Linked DNA regions of Homo sapiens: region 2 is linked to region 1. Evidence: promoter capture Hi-C in 16 types of primary human blood cells and fetal thymus (Javierre and others, 2016). All regions are on one chromosome and are shown on one strand. The core of a region is centred on a gene start or on the middle of the fragment in contact, and the rest is flanking DNA. Distances in the headings are between cores, read along the strand shown.

Region 1 (6,552 bases), core at 3,037-5,536:
CACAAAAAATTAGCTGGGTGTGGTGGCGGGCGCCTGTAGTCCCAGCTACTCGGGAGGCTGAGGCAGGAGAATGGCATGAACCCGGGAGGCGGAGCTTGCAGTGAACCGAGATTGCGCCACTGCACTCCAGCCTGGGCGACAGAGCAAGACTCCGTCTCAAAAAAAAAAAAAAAAAAAAAAAAAATTGGGGGAGTGGGGACTGAAGAATGTCCTAGTACAAAGAATCTAAGGTGTGGAGTCAGACAGATATGGATTTCTATTCATAATTTTCTATCTTTTGGCAAATCACTTTACTTCTTTGGGACTCATCTAGTCTTCCCAGGTGCCTGCACCTCAGTTATTAATGAAAAGGAGGCCGGGTGTGGTGGCTCACGCCTGTAATTCCAGCACCTTGGGAGGCTGAGGTGGGAGGATCACTTGAACCCAGGGGTTCAAGACCAGTCTGGCCAACATGGCAAAACTCCGTCTCTACAAAAAATACAAAAATTAGCCAGGCATGGTGGCACACACCTGTAGTCTCAGCTACTCGGAAGGCTGAGGCAGAAGGATCACCTGAGCCTGGGGAGGTCGAGGCTGCAGTGAGCCGTAATCGCACCACCGCACTCCAGCGTGGGCGAGAGTGAGACTCTGTCTCAAAAAACAAAACAAAACAAAACAAAAAACAGACTTAAGTATATTACAAATCCGTCGTGATCCTCTCAACTATTCTGAGGTAAATGCCACACCCACTTTTTTTTTTTACAGCTGAGGACACTGACTCACAGAAGCTAGATGGCCTGTTCAGCATCACACAGCTAATAAAATGTGGAGTTAACCCACATTGATCCTACTTCCAAATCCCAGAGTCCTTCCATGTTCTAGTCTTTGGTTAAGAATGCTTGAGAGAAGGACTAGAGGGACTTTATATGAAGTGTAAAGCTTTATTCATACAATAGTCCTCACTAGTGCTGTGTGAGAGAGAGAAGGCTGAGGAAAGCGTCGGCGGAAAAAGGCTGATCCAAGGGGAAAGGGGGCCGGAACTGGAGGGCACTGGTTCTGAGAGGAGAAAGGGAGATGGGGAGGTCTGATGGGCAGGCATCCCCCAAAGCCCCTGAGAAAATTCATTTGAGGAGGAGAGAAAGGGATGGCGTGAAGCTGGAGGAAAAGGGATCGAACCGGATGCGGCGAGGCCTGAACTGGCCTGGCGGGCGCCGACCCGTTCTCCTCTCACTCAGATCAGCGCCCCTCCACCCTCCCGTTCCCCAGTCCAGCTTTCCCAGAGATGTCAGCATCTCTGCCATCCCTCATCCCTCGCTCCACCCCACACGCCCGCCGTACGGACCGTCTGCGACAGCTGCTAGGCCTCTGGACTAGATCCAGGCTGTCAGCCAAAGCCCATGCCCCCAAAGTTACCAGTCCTCCTCCCCTGCAGCTGCAGACGCAGACGCCGCCATATCTTCACCGGCCCGCAGCCGGAACCGGAAATGCCCTTAGGGAAGTCGGAGGCGGAAAACTAAGAGGGGTGGGCAGCTAGCGTCGTTTCTAGGCAACCGCAGACTCCGGGTCCTTAGCCGGGCCTGATGGCCCTGAGGCAGTTCGGATGTGTCCCAGGAAGTGCCCATGTGTGGTCCGCCGTCCATTCCACACCTCTGAGCGCCTTTGTCCTCTGAACTTCTCACCAGTTCTAGCGAGTAAAATTGTAAGAAAGGGAGCCGAAAGAGACCGGAGGGAGAGGCGGGTGGAGAAGAATTATAAGTCAGGCAACGTATGCAGGCAGCCAGAAGAGATGGGGCTAAACGCCAGGGAATCCGTCCCTTGGCCTGAGGAGCTTGGAGCTCCTAGGCTGGGGGTGAGAGAGGGGCTCTGGCCTGCGAAGCGCACGGGCCAGGGGGTCTGAGAGCGGGTGCTGAGGAGTCTGGGAGTGGCAGGAACTTGGGGGAGACTCAAAGGAGCAGGGTTGGTTGGGCGAGGCTAGGTTGAAAGAGTAGGGTCGAGTGAGCCAGGCTGGGTGAGGGAGAAGGGGAACCAGGTGTTAGTTGGGCATGGGGCCGGGTTGGGGACAGGAGGATGAAAGTGGGGAGGAACTACAAAGAGAAGCTCTGTTTGTTCCAAGAGCGCATCATCTTTGCATGCATTCCACCCTCCCATGTTTTTTGAGGCTTTATTGTGAAAAAGAGGAAAAGGCAAGGTGGCTAACATTTTTCCTTTCCCGTGCCCCAACTAGGCGTCCCAGATGTTGTGGAACTGTCCCTGGATCTATAGCTCTTCACCGTCTCTACTTTCTTCCTTCTAAGAGATCCTGAAACCTCTGTCATGGAAAAGTACCACGTGTTGGAGATGATTGGAGAAGGCTCTTTTGGGAGGGTGTACAAGGGTCGAAGAAAATACAGTGCTCAGGTGTTGCACAAAGAGGGATACCTTTTGGGTGGGATTTGGTACCCCCAACTCCAGTGGAAAATGGATCTAGAAGGAATGTATTTATACCAGTTTGTATTCCTAAGGTACTGACTCCCTCATACTTCTTATGGAGTATAAGCTTTGAAGTTGGATTATTTGGGTGCAAATTCCATCTCCACCGCTTTCTAGCCCTAGAATTATGGACAAATTACTTAACTTCCCTATGTCTCAATTTCCTTATCTCTAGAATGGGGATAAGAACAGCAACTGATTGATGGAGTTTGAGGATTAAATATGTTTTCACATTAAATCACTTAGTACAGTGCCTGGCTGTTAGTAAACAACAAATATTATTAGTCTCTAGCACACCATGTAATAAGAGGTAAACCACTTGAACTCTATTATTTCCTCTTCATTTTTTTTTTCCTTTCCTTTCTCCTAAATCTCATCTTGAGTGCTGGTCAAATCAGAACACTTCTTCCAGAAGGGGAAATGTTTTGCAGATGCTGTTTCCTCCTGGGATGAGGAATGGGGAAAGCCTGGATAAGGCCAGGGTACCATGGAGAAAATGGAAGCGGGAGACTAACAGAAATAATAAGAGTTACTCAAACACTCTAAAATCTGACTTCTGGAGCTCTGAGATTAAGGCTGAAATTCTAGATCTTTTCAGTAGTGTGATTAGGCGTTAACTTTTCACCTTACCACTGACAGGTCGTGGCCCTGAAGTTCATCCCAAAATTGGGGCGCTCAGAGAAGGAGCTGAGGAATTTGCAACGAGAGATTGAAATAATGCGGGGTCTGCGGCATCCCAACATTGTGCATATGCTTGACAGCTTTGAAACTGATAAAGAGGTGTGCTTTGACAGTTTTGGGCCCTGTCTCCCCAAGCACAAGGGTTCCAGGAATTTCCCAACCTCAGAATGCATGAATCTGGAGCCATCAGTGCCACTGCCTTCTCTCTGTAGGTGGTGGTGGTGACAGACTATGCTGAGGGAGAGCTCTTTCAGATCCTAGAAGATGACGGAAAACTTCCTGAAGACCAGGTATGCTTTCTGCCTTCAACTTCTCCCCACCTCCGACCTCTCTCCAGGTTAGAGAACTGGTAGAGCAAGCTAAGGACACTGAGAGTCTCCATTTCAAAGACTTCTGAGAAGAATATAAGAGTCTAGGTATATAGAGGCAGTGTAGTGTGGGAGTAAATTATGTAAACGTTGGAGTCAAAATATCTGAGCAGGAAGCTTGGCTCTGCTCCTTCCTAGCTGGGTCTCATTGGACAAGTTACTTTAATTTCTTTGTGCTTAGTTTCCTAATTTGTAAAATGGAGATAATAATCATGTTTGCCTGATAAGTCTATGATGAAGAGTGTTAAGTCATGTAATGTGTTTGAATAGTTAGCTATTATTAACATTATTGTTATTAGATACCTTTAGGGAAGAAGGGCCAGTGTAATGGTACCAGAAAGAGGGCAGTAAGAATAAAGGTTGTGGGGAGTCAGGATTTGGCACCAGGACGTAGTGGTTAGCAGTGGGATTTTGTTGCACATATCCTCCAGCCACATTTATTCTAGGCGTTTGTCTGTACCCAAGCAAGTAGGCCCCCCCTGGGATTCATTATTGCAGCATTCTCTTTCCTTCTGAGCACTCACCACTATTTGTAAGTAATCATATTTTTGAAATTATTTTATTTTTAATTGAATTTTATTTTTTGAGACAGAGTCTCGCTTTGTTGCCCAGGCTGGAGTGCAGTGGCACAATCTTGGCTCACAGCAAACTCCGCCTTCCAGGTTCAAGCAATTCTCGTGCCTCAGCCTCCCCAGTAACCAGGATTATAGCATGCGCCACCATGCCTAGCTAATTTTGTACTTTTAGTAGAGATGGGGTTTCACCATGCTGGCCAGGCTGGTCTCGAACTGCTGGCCTCAGGTGATCTGCCCGCCTCAGCCTCCCAAAGTGCTGGTATTACAGGTGTGAGCCACCACGCCCGACCACCATATTTGTTTTATCTGTCTTGTTTGTTTGTCTGACTACTTTTCTTGAAAAAAGGCATTTTGTCTTATTTAATAACAGGTAATGTGTATTGAATATTTACTATGTGCCAGGCACCATTCTGAGTATTATTTTGCATGCTTTAACTCAGTCCTCACAATAATCCTCCATGTAGATGGTGTTATTATATAGATTGTCACCTTAGTTTGCCCATGGTCAAGCAGATAGTAAATGAGATTCAATAAATTTTTCTTGAATGAATGAATGAGCAAATGAAAGAGTGATTAAACAAGGGGAACAATAACTAAGAAAGAATAGTGTGAAGCTCTGCAAGAAAGGGAAGGAAGAAAAGATTAGCAGTAATATTAAGAGAAATTTTTGGGCTTGTCAGCCAGCTGCTGTTTCTAACCTTTTTTTTCTTTCTTCCACCTCTTTAATTTCTAGGTTCAGGCCATTGCTGCCCAGTTGGTGTCAGCCCTGTACTATCTGCATTCCCACCGCATCCTACACCGAGATATGAAGCCTCAGAACATCCTCCTCGCCAAGGGTGGTGGCATCAAGCTCTGTGACTTTGGGTAAAGATTCTGAGCATCCATCTAAGCTTCCAGTTCCACACGGAATCTTTTTTTTTTTTTTTTTTTTTGAGATGGAGTTTCACTCTTGTTACCCAGGCTGAAGTGCAATGGTGCGATCTCCACTCACCACAACCTCTGCCTCCCGGATTCAAGCAATTCTACTGCCTCAGCCTCCAGAGTAGCTGGGATTACAGGCATGTGCCACCATGCCTGGCTAATTTTATATTTTTAGTAGAGATGGGGTTTCTCCATGTTGGTCAGGCTGGTCTCGAACTCCTGACCTCAGGTGATCTGCCCACCTCGGCCTCCCAAAGTGCTGGGATTACAGGCATGAGCCACTGAGCCTGGCCCCACAGGGAATCTTAGACCATACTCTTGACTTATTTGGGCCTCATTTTAGAACCGGAGCTAGAGGCTGGGACTGCTGCTGGGTCTTCTGGAACCTAATCAAAGGTGCTCCCTCTGCTCCGGTTTGGGATATCTCTATGTTAGGTAGTAGTGACCAGGTTTAGAATATCTTTTCCCTTTCCATTTCCATCCCATTATCTTCTGCAGATTTGCCCGGGCTATGAGCACCAATACAATGGTGCTGACATCCATCAAAGGCACACCACTCTATATGTCTCCAGAGCTGGTGGAGGAGCGACCATACGACCACACAGCGGACCTCTGGTCTGTTGGCTGCATACTATATGAACTGGCAGTAGGCACCCCTCCCTTCTATGCTACAAGCATCTTTCAGCTGGTCAGCCTCATTCTCAAGGACCCTGTGCGCTGGCCCTCAACCATCAGTCCCTGCTTTAAGGTAATGAATATTGAAAGGGAGATGACTTTTACATTAGAAATCTGTCTCCCTCTATCTCTGTTCCTTTTTCCAAATCCTTTTCCAGAGCTGAGGCGGGACTTTGCAGTTACTGAATTAATGGCTGTGTTATTCTGTTCTCGCATTGCTATACAGAACCACCTGAGACTGGGTATTTTATAAAGAAAAGAGGTTTAATTGGCTCACAGCTCCATAGCCTGTACAGGAAGGATGGCTGGGGAAGCCTCAGGAAACTTACAATCATGACGGAAAGCAAAGGGGAAACAGGCATGTCTTACGTGGTGGACCAGGAGGAAGATAGAGAAAGGAAAGGTGCTACACGCTTTTTTTTTTTTTTTGAGACACAGTTTTTTTTTCTTTTTTTTTTTTTGAGACAGAGTCTCGCTCTGTCACCCAGGCTGGAGTGTAGTGGCGTGATCTTGGCTCACTGCAAGCTCTGCCTTGCAGGTTCACACCATTCTCCTGCCTCAGCCTCCTGAGTAGCTGGGATTACAGGTGCCCACCACGACACCCGGCTAATTTTTTTGTATTTTTTAGTAGAGACGGGGTTTCACCGTGTTAGCCAGCATGGTCTTGATCTCCTGACCTCGTGACTCGCCTGCCTCAGCCTCCCAAAGTGCTGGGATTACAGGCATGAGCCACTGCTCCCAGCCTGAGACAGAGTTTTGCTTTTGTTGTCCAGGCTGGACTGCAATGGCGCGATCTCGGCTGACCGCAACCTCTGCTTCCCAGGTTCAAGCAATTCTTCTGCCTCAGCCTCCCGAGTAGCTGGGATTACAGGCATGCACCACCA
Region 2 (6,552 bases), core at 2,693-5,192, 570 kb after region 1:
AGAGACCAGGAAGGCCTCACCAAGGTGACTTCTGCAGGAGGCTTGTGATGAAGGAGCACCACATGCAAAGGCCTCAAAGCCCAAGGCCTGGTGGGTCTGAAGAACAGCAATGAGGCCACTGTGGCTGGAGCAGAGTGAACATGGGGGAGAAGAGCAATAATGTCGAGGAGGTGACTGGGGCCAATTGTGTAGGACCTACCACTTTAAGGAATTTATGGTTCATATTCTGAATGAGATGAGAACCTACTAGAGAGGTTTAAGCAGAGAAATGACAAGATCTGAGATGTATCTTTAAACTTATACTTGAACAGGATCACACTGGCTACTCTACTGAGAACAGATTGTATGGGGGAGAGGGCAAACAAGGGAAACCAGTTAGGAAGCTATAAAATAAGCCAGCTGAGAGAGATGGTTTGGACCAGGGTGGGGGCAATGGGGGTGATAAAAAGCACTTAAATTTAATGTTTGTCAAGATACAGCTGATAGGATTTTCTCTTTTTTGAGACAAAGTCTCTTCAATCTGTCACCCAGGCTGGAGTGTAGTTGTTCAATCTCGGCTCACTGCAACCTCTGACCCCCGGGCCCAAGTGATTCTCCTGCATCAGCCTCCCAAGTAGCTGGGATTACAGGTGCCCACCACCTCGCCCAGCCAATTTTTTGTATTTTTAGTAGAGATGGGATTTTGCCATGTTGGCCAGGTGGGTCTCAAACTCCTGACCTCAGGTCATGCACCCGCCTGGGCCTCTGAAAGTGCTGGGATCACAGGCATGAGCCACCGCGCCCAGCTGTTTTTTTTTTTTTTAATCAGTTTCTTCCACTATATTATAAGCTTTACGGCACAAGGATGGGGGTCTGTCTGGTCCCCCAGTTTCTAGCATCCTGCTGGGCATGAAGGAAACACTTGGTAAATGAATGATGACCTCCAATTTGGGAATGGTCTCTTCTGCTTTTGGCACCCAAATAGCCCATTTTACTTACTTGCTTCTGTGTTAAATCCTTTGTCTCAACTCACCTGGATCTGAGGTTCTTAGATGAATTTCAGGTTTTCGAAGCAACCAGGATGGGAGACCCCCCTGAGACAAACATAAAGAGAACAAAGAAGCATGTAGGTTTTGTTTTGGGGTGTGGTGGGGAAGCTAGGAAGGGAAGGAAGGAAGGGAAGGAATTGAATATAGTGCTGGAGATGGCCCTAGAGTGTGGGCAGATGGGAGTAGTCTAGGAACTGCACAAGGATAACTGGTTCTATCCCTTCTCCAGCTAACTCACCATCTCCCACTCTGCACAGATGTAAGGTCCTGGTCTCAGTATGACCAACAGGTTCGCTAGAGCTGCCTCATTCAGAAAGGCAATGAGGTCCCGGCTGCCATTAAAGTTATAGACCCCAGGCTGTGGCTCGTGGTAGTTCCAGGGCACATAACTGAGAAAGGAAGAGGTTAATAGGAACCAAGGTGAAGAGACGCCAGGGAGGCCTAACGGCTCAGGCCTTGCAGGGAATCTCCAGGAAGCGGTTGGAAGGAGGTCCTGGCCTGCCCTTTCCCACCCTTGGCCTAGGAGTCCTGGCAGTCTTCCTGTCCCGACCTTCTTTATAAGGGGGCGGTAGAAAAAGTAGATCCCATCCCTCCGCGGCTCTTGCGAGCACTTCTTACAACTGTATGGCGTTGAGGCCGCTCCATCGCATCTTCAAAAGCCGGTCGGCCCAAAGCACCCGCGGTACCCGAAAGTAGTGCAGGCTGCCAGACACATAGCGGAACGGGGCCCCGTCTAGGAGAAACCGGTCATGACCCCTATCCACTACGAACGACCGAGTGTCTGCCTATAAAGAGAAAGAGACGCTGCTCAGCAGACGCCTGGAGGGAGCGTCGAGGGTCAGCGCCTGCCAAGAGCGGAAGAGATGGAACTAGCCCTGCGGGTTGTTTGGTTGTTACTTTGGACTTTCTCTCATCCGCTGGATCTGATCCCGCTCACCGCACCCGGCAGGCTGGTTCACCGTCTCATCTTACCTGGGGCAGCAGTAGCGTCAGGCTGAGCGGCAGCAGCAGGGAACGAAGGCAGGACAGCTTCTTGGGAGCCATGGCGTTTACAGCGCTCCTCTAGTCTGAGACGGCGGACAGACCGTCACGTGTCGGATTCCTGGGAGGGAACCTCAGCGAGCAAGGGGGCGGAAACCACCTCAAGTTGCCAGGCGTTTAGCCTGGACTTCCTCTCCAGCCTGCAGCCACCCCCTTACTCTACTAGTTTGTAAAATTTCTACATCATGTTAAAGTGCAGTTCACGAACCAGCTTCATCGACATCACCTGGGAACTTGTTAGAAATGGAGAATCTGGCTGGGCACGATGGCTCACGCCTGTAATCCCAACACTTTGGGAGGCCGAGGCGGGTGGATCACTTGAGGTCAGGAGTTCAAGACCAGCTTGGCCAACAGGGCAAAACCCTGTCTCTACTAAAAATACAAAAATTAGCCGGGCCTGGTGGCACGCGCCTGTATTCCAAGCTACTCCGAGGGTGGGGGTGGGGGTGGGGGTGGGGGTGGGGGTAGGGGCTGAGGCAGGAGAATTGCTTGAACCCGGAAGGCGGAGGTTGCAGTGAACCGAGATCCTGCCACTGCACTCCAGCCTGGGCAACAGAGCGAGACTCTGTCTCAAAAAACACAAACAAACAAACAAAAGAAATGTAAAATCTCAGATCCTACCTCAGACCTATAGAATCAGAATTTGTATTTTAACAAGATTCCCAGGTGATCCTAGGCACCTTCAAAATTGAGAAGCATGGCTTTACTTGACTGGGCTCCCTGAGGACAGGGAGTGCCCTGTTCATCTCAAATCCTCAGCCTCTAGCACAGGGCCGGGTATATAGTAGGTTAAATCTGGATGAATCAATGTCATAACCAAAAGGCTAAAACAGGTTCAGAACCAGGGGAAACCATTGGAAAATCTTCAGGGTGATCCGGGGTGTGGAAGGGAGGAACCAGGTCACAAGAAGGACCTCTTTCCTGGAGAGTCCTGTTTCAGCAAAACAGCCATTCCCTCCTGGCCATTCCACCTTCTTTGGAAGTGCACCCCTCTCCAGCTTACCCCTGCCTGCCTCCGCAACAGATATTAAGGACAACTGCTTTGTGCCAAAGCTCGAAAATCTGTGAATTTCCGTTCCTTTTGCCTTTACAGTCTCAAGAATGGGATGTGAAGATCAGGGTAATAATAATTACGGTTTATTGACACGTACTGAAGGCTATGTGTCAGATATTGTATTAAACACTGTACATCTCATTTAATCTTCAACTCCATGAGGTAGATAATTATTTCCATTTTACAGAGGAGGAGAGGAAAGGACAGAAACATTAAGTAGCCTGTCCAAGGTCACACAACTACGTTAACGGAGCTGTCATTTGAACTAGTCAGTCTGGCCTCACAGTTAAGCTACTTAACCTTATGTACTATTATACCTATTTTACAGCTACCAAAAGTAAGGATCCGAGAGGTTAAGTAACTTGCCCGAGGTTACACAGCTAGCATGCTATTAACACTCAATTTAGAAACTGGAAGTCTGGTTCACAAGCCTGAGCTCTTAACCACTGAGACTAGGGGTAGTGGGATACAGGCCAGAGCCCAGAAGGTTGTACGGGATCAGGAGACCAGGCCACCAGACCCGCCCCTCACTGGATCCCCCTCCAGGCTGCAGTGTAGTTGGCCGCTTTCTGCCCCAGAGCGCCAGAGGTATGAAGCCTCCTACCTCCAACATTGGGAGATGGAGGTCCTGGGGGCCTCGGGCCGAGCCCGGCTTTGCTCCCCTTTGGCGTAGGTGCCTGCGTCTTGACCCCCACCGAAGGCCAAGTAGAGAACCCTCACCAGGGTCCTGGGACCCGTCCACCCCTACACCTAGCTAGCCCGGAGCCTCTCAGCTCCGCGTCCCCACATCCTCCGGATGCCCAGCGGTTGCTGAGATACCGCGGGCCGTTACGCCGGCGCGGACTGATGATGTCAGCACTGCTTCCGGTCGGTGGCGCTTCTCTCTGGCCCGAGCCAGGTCAGTCCGGCAGTGCAGATGGCCCATCCCGGGCTCTGGGCTCCTAGACCGGGGTGGGCCCTGCCAGGAGTGGGCCTGAGCCTCGCACGTCCTCTGAAACTACGCTATGCTCTGCTTTTGCGGCGCGATGGGCGTGGGAGCGGGGGCTGCCCAAAGATGGGCTGGGGTTGGAGGAAGTGGCCCGGTAGCCGCTGTGTGTCCTGAGGCCGTAAGGCGCCTGACCCCACCCCTGAAGCTGGCGACGGAGCAGGGCCTGTTTTCTCTACACTATAGTGTAGGTTCCAGAGACCTGGGCCTGAGCTCTCCGCATTGGTACTTCATGGGTCGTCTGGATTGTGCCGGACCTGTGACCCTGCCGTTGTTTTCTTTCCAGCATGATCCGCTGGGCCCCCAGCGCATCTCCTGGAAGAGCCCACTCACCCTGGACGAGCTCTTCGGTAGCCTCAGACCGTCCTTGAAGAGGATGACTGAGACATTATGGGCCACGCGCTGTGTGTCTGCTCTCGGGGAACTGTCATCATTGACAATAAGCGCTACCTCTTCATCCAGAAACTGGGGGAGGGGTGAGTGTTTGGAAGTCAGTTAACTAGTCCTCAAGTTTATGATCATTGAAGGACAGCGGTGTGCATATGCTTGGGGCACAAGGGTTTTATCCCTATCCCTGTCCTCTCTCACCTGACAGAACCTAGCTACACAGTATCAAGAAGGTGGATTCTGGAGCCAGGCCTGCTAAATCCACCTCGTGTGACCTTGATAAACCATGTTTTTTTCATCAGCTTAATGGAGATGATTATTATCCCTCACTGATGGAGTTGTGAGGATTAAATGAGATAATGTGTATAAAATGTCTCACCCAATGCGGGGTTGACAAGTACTTGATAAGTGTTGGCTATTATTTATTTAGCATCTGTCAAGTGCAGAGGTCTCTATTACGACCATAGGACCTCAAAGATTTCTATATCTCTGCTCCTGAGGAGCTCACGGTGTAATATTCTTCAGATTTCTCTTAGAGCCACATCTTGGGAAGGTTTCTGCTAAATGGGAAGGACACCCCACTCCCCACCAGGAAATTTCTCTAGGTCCAAGCCATGTGGGAGATGACCATGGCCCTTTATTGACCCCTTTGGCCCACAGTGGGTTCAGCTATGTGGACCTAGTGGAAGGGTTACATGATGGACACTTCTACGCCCTGAAGCGAATCCTGTGTCACGAGCAGCAGGACCGGGAGGAGGCCCAGCGAGAAGCCGACATGCATCGCCTCTTCAATCACCCCAACATCCTTCGCCTCGTGGCTTACTGTCTGAGGGAACGGGGTGCTAAGCATGAGGCCTGGCTGCTGCTACCATTCTTCAAGGTCAGAAAGACTCCTGGTTATGGAGGGGGTTGCAGCAGAGCCACCTACTCAAGGGCTGTGTGAGCAGTCCAGCATGTTAGGAAGCAGGGACCATGTCCTGGGTTTGGCCACTTTAGATTTTGAGTTTGAGGTGTGTATCATGAAAGGGCTGATAGGCTTTGACATAGGGAAGGGATCAGGCCTAAGGAGCAGAGGCTCCAAAAACATCTCCAACTGTAGGGAAACTTGTGTTGCAGAGAGGTACGCTGTGGAATGAGATAGAAAGGCTGAAGGACAAAGGCAACTTCCTGACCGAGGATCAAATCCTTTGGCTGCTGCTGGGGATCTGCAGAGGCCTTGAGGCCATTCATGCCAAGGGTTATGCCCACAGGTCAGTGGGAGGACCCTGTGTGCTTGCTGGGGCCCAGAGGAAGAGCCTCACCAGGAGACATGGGAGGTCTCTGTTCTCCCAAGAAACAGCCTGTATGATTCTTTTGCTTGCTGGGATTCCAGCCTTCCTGTCCAGAGATGCTCATAGGTCACTTCTACTTCTCTACAGAGACTTGAAGCCCACCAATATATTGCTTGGAGATGAGGGGCAGCCAGTTTTAATGGACTTGGGTTCCATGAATCAAGCATGCATCCATGTGGAGGGCTCCCGCCAGGCTCTGACCCTGCAGGTAAAAGAGTCTCCAGGTTCCTTTTCTCACCTGTTCCCCATTCCCACCCCTTCTGGTGCATGTCCCAGTTTGGTCACATGACCATGACCTGTGCCCCACTTTTGAGCTCTGGGATCACTGTTCCAGGACTGGGCAGCCCAGCGGTGCACCATCTCCTACCGAGCCCCAGAGCTCTTCTCTGTGCAGAGTCACTGTGTCATCGATGAGCGGACTGATGTCTGGGTGAGGAGCATGTGGGTGGGTATCTGGGTAGGGAGGGCTGTGGCTCTGTACCCACCGTGGAGTAGAGTAGGTTGTTGGTTTCTGTTGCATGGGGCGCCAGGAACCACAATATGTCCCCATCCACTTCAACTTCCTTCCTGGGAAATGTCACTGATACTGTACCCAGTTGTACCGGATGTGGTATAATCTGTGCCCCTGAACAAGGTGAGTACAGCTCAGTGTCAGTAGTGAAGGCACTGGCTAAGCAGGGGCTAAGCTAAACAGGGGCTGCGGAGGCCTCCAGCTGACTGGCAGTT

The links. Contacts are between HindIII fragments. The CHiCAGO score rates a contact against its expected background, and 5 or more counts as called.
Region 2: a contact is called between the fragment with the promoter of GLB1L here and a fragment that was not itself captured in region 1, in 1 of 17 cell types (total CD4 T cells). The highest score is 6.9, in total CD4 T cells.

What each region holds. Positions count from the first base shown.
Region 1 is chr2:218,670,538-218,677,089 of GRCh38, forward strand. It overlaps STK36 (serine/threonine kinase 36), which reads left to right and starts at 1,549. Exons shown (of 27, transcript NM_015690.5): 1 at 1,549-1,678; 2 at 2,204-2,376; 3 at 3,088-3,228; 4 at 3,342-3,419; 5 at 4,806-4,936; 6 at 5,492-5,741. The coding sequence starts at 2,293. It overlaps RNF25 (ring finger protein 25), which reads right to left and starts at 1,465. Exons shown (of 10, transcript NM_022453.3): 1 at 1,393-1,465. The coding sequence starts at 1,433. RefSeq lists an enhancer at 1,370-1,469. The HindIII fragment of the contact is 1,348 bases long and covers 3,613-4,960 here.
Region 2 is chr2:219,241,502-219,248,053 of GRCh38, forward strand. It overlaps GLB1L (galactosidase beta 1 like), which reads right to left and starts at 3,943. Exons shown (of 17, transcript NM_001286423.2): 1 at 3,728-3,943; 2 at 2,001-2,142; 3 at 1,647-1,813; 4 at 1,267-1,417; 5 at 1,013-1,073. The coding sequence starts at 2,072. STK16 (serine/threonine kinase 16) reads left to right here and starts at 3,978. Exons shown (of 8, transcript NM_001330213.2): 1 at 3,978-4,295; 2 at 4,395-4,584; 3 at 5,156-5,375; 4 at 5,612-5,745; 5 at 5,914-6,034; 6 at 6,161-6,256. The coding sequence starts at 4,499. RefSeq lists enhancers at 3,659-4,241, 3,690-4,119. The HindIII fragment of the contact is 6,920 bases long and covers 828-6,552 here.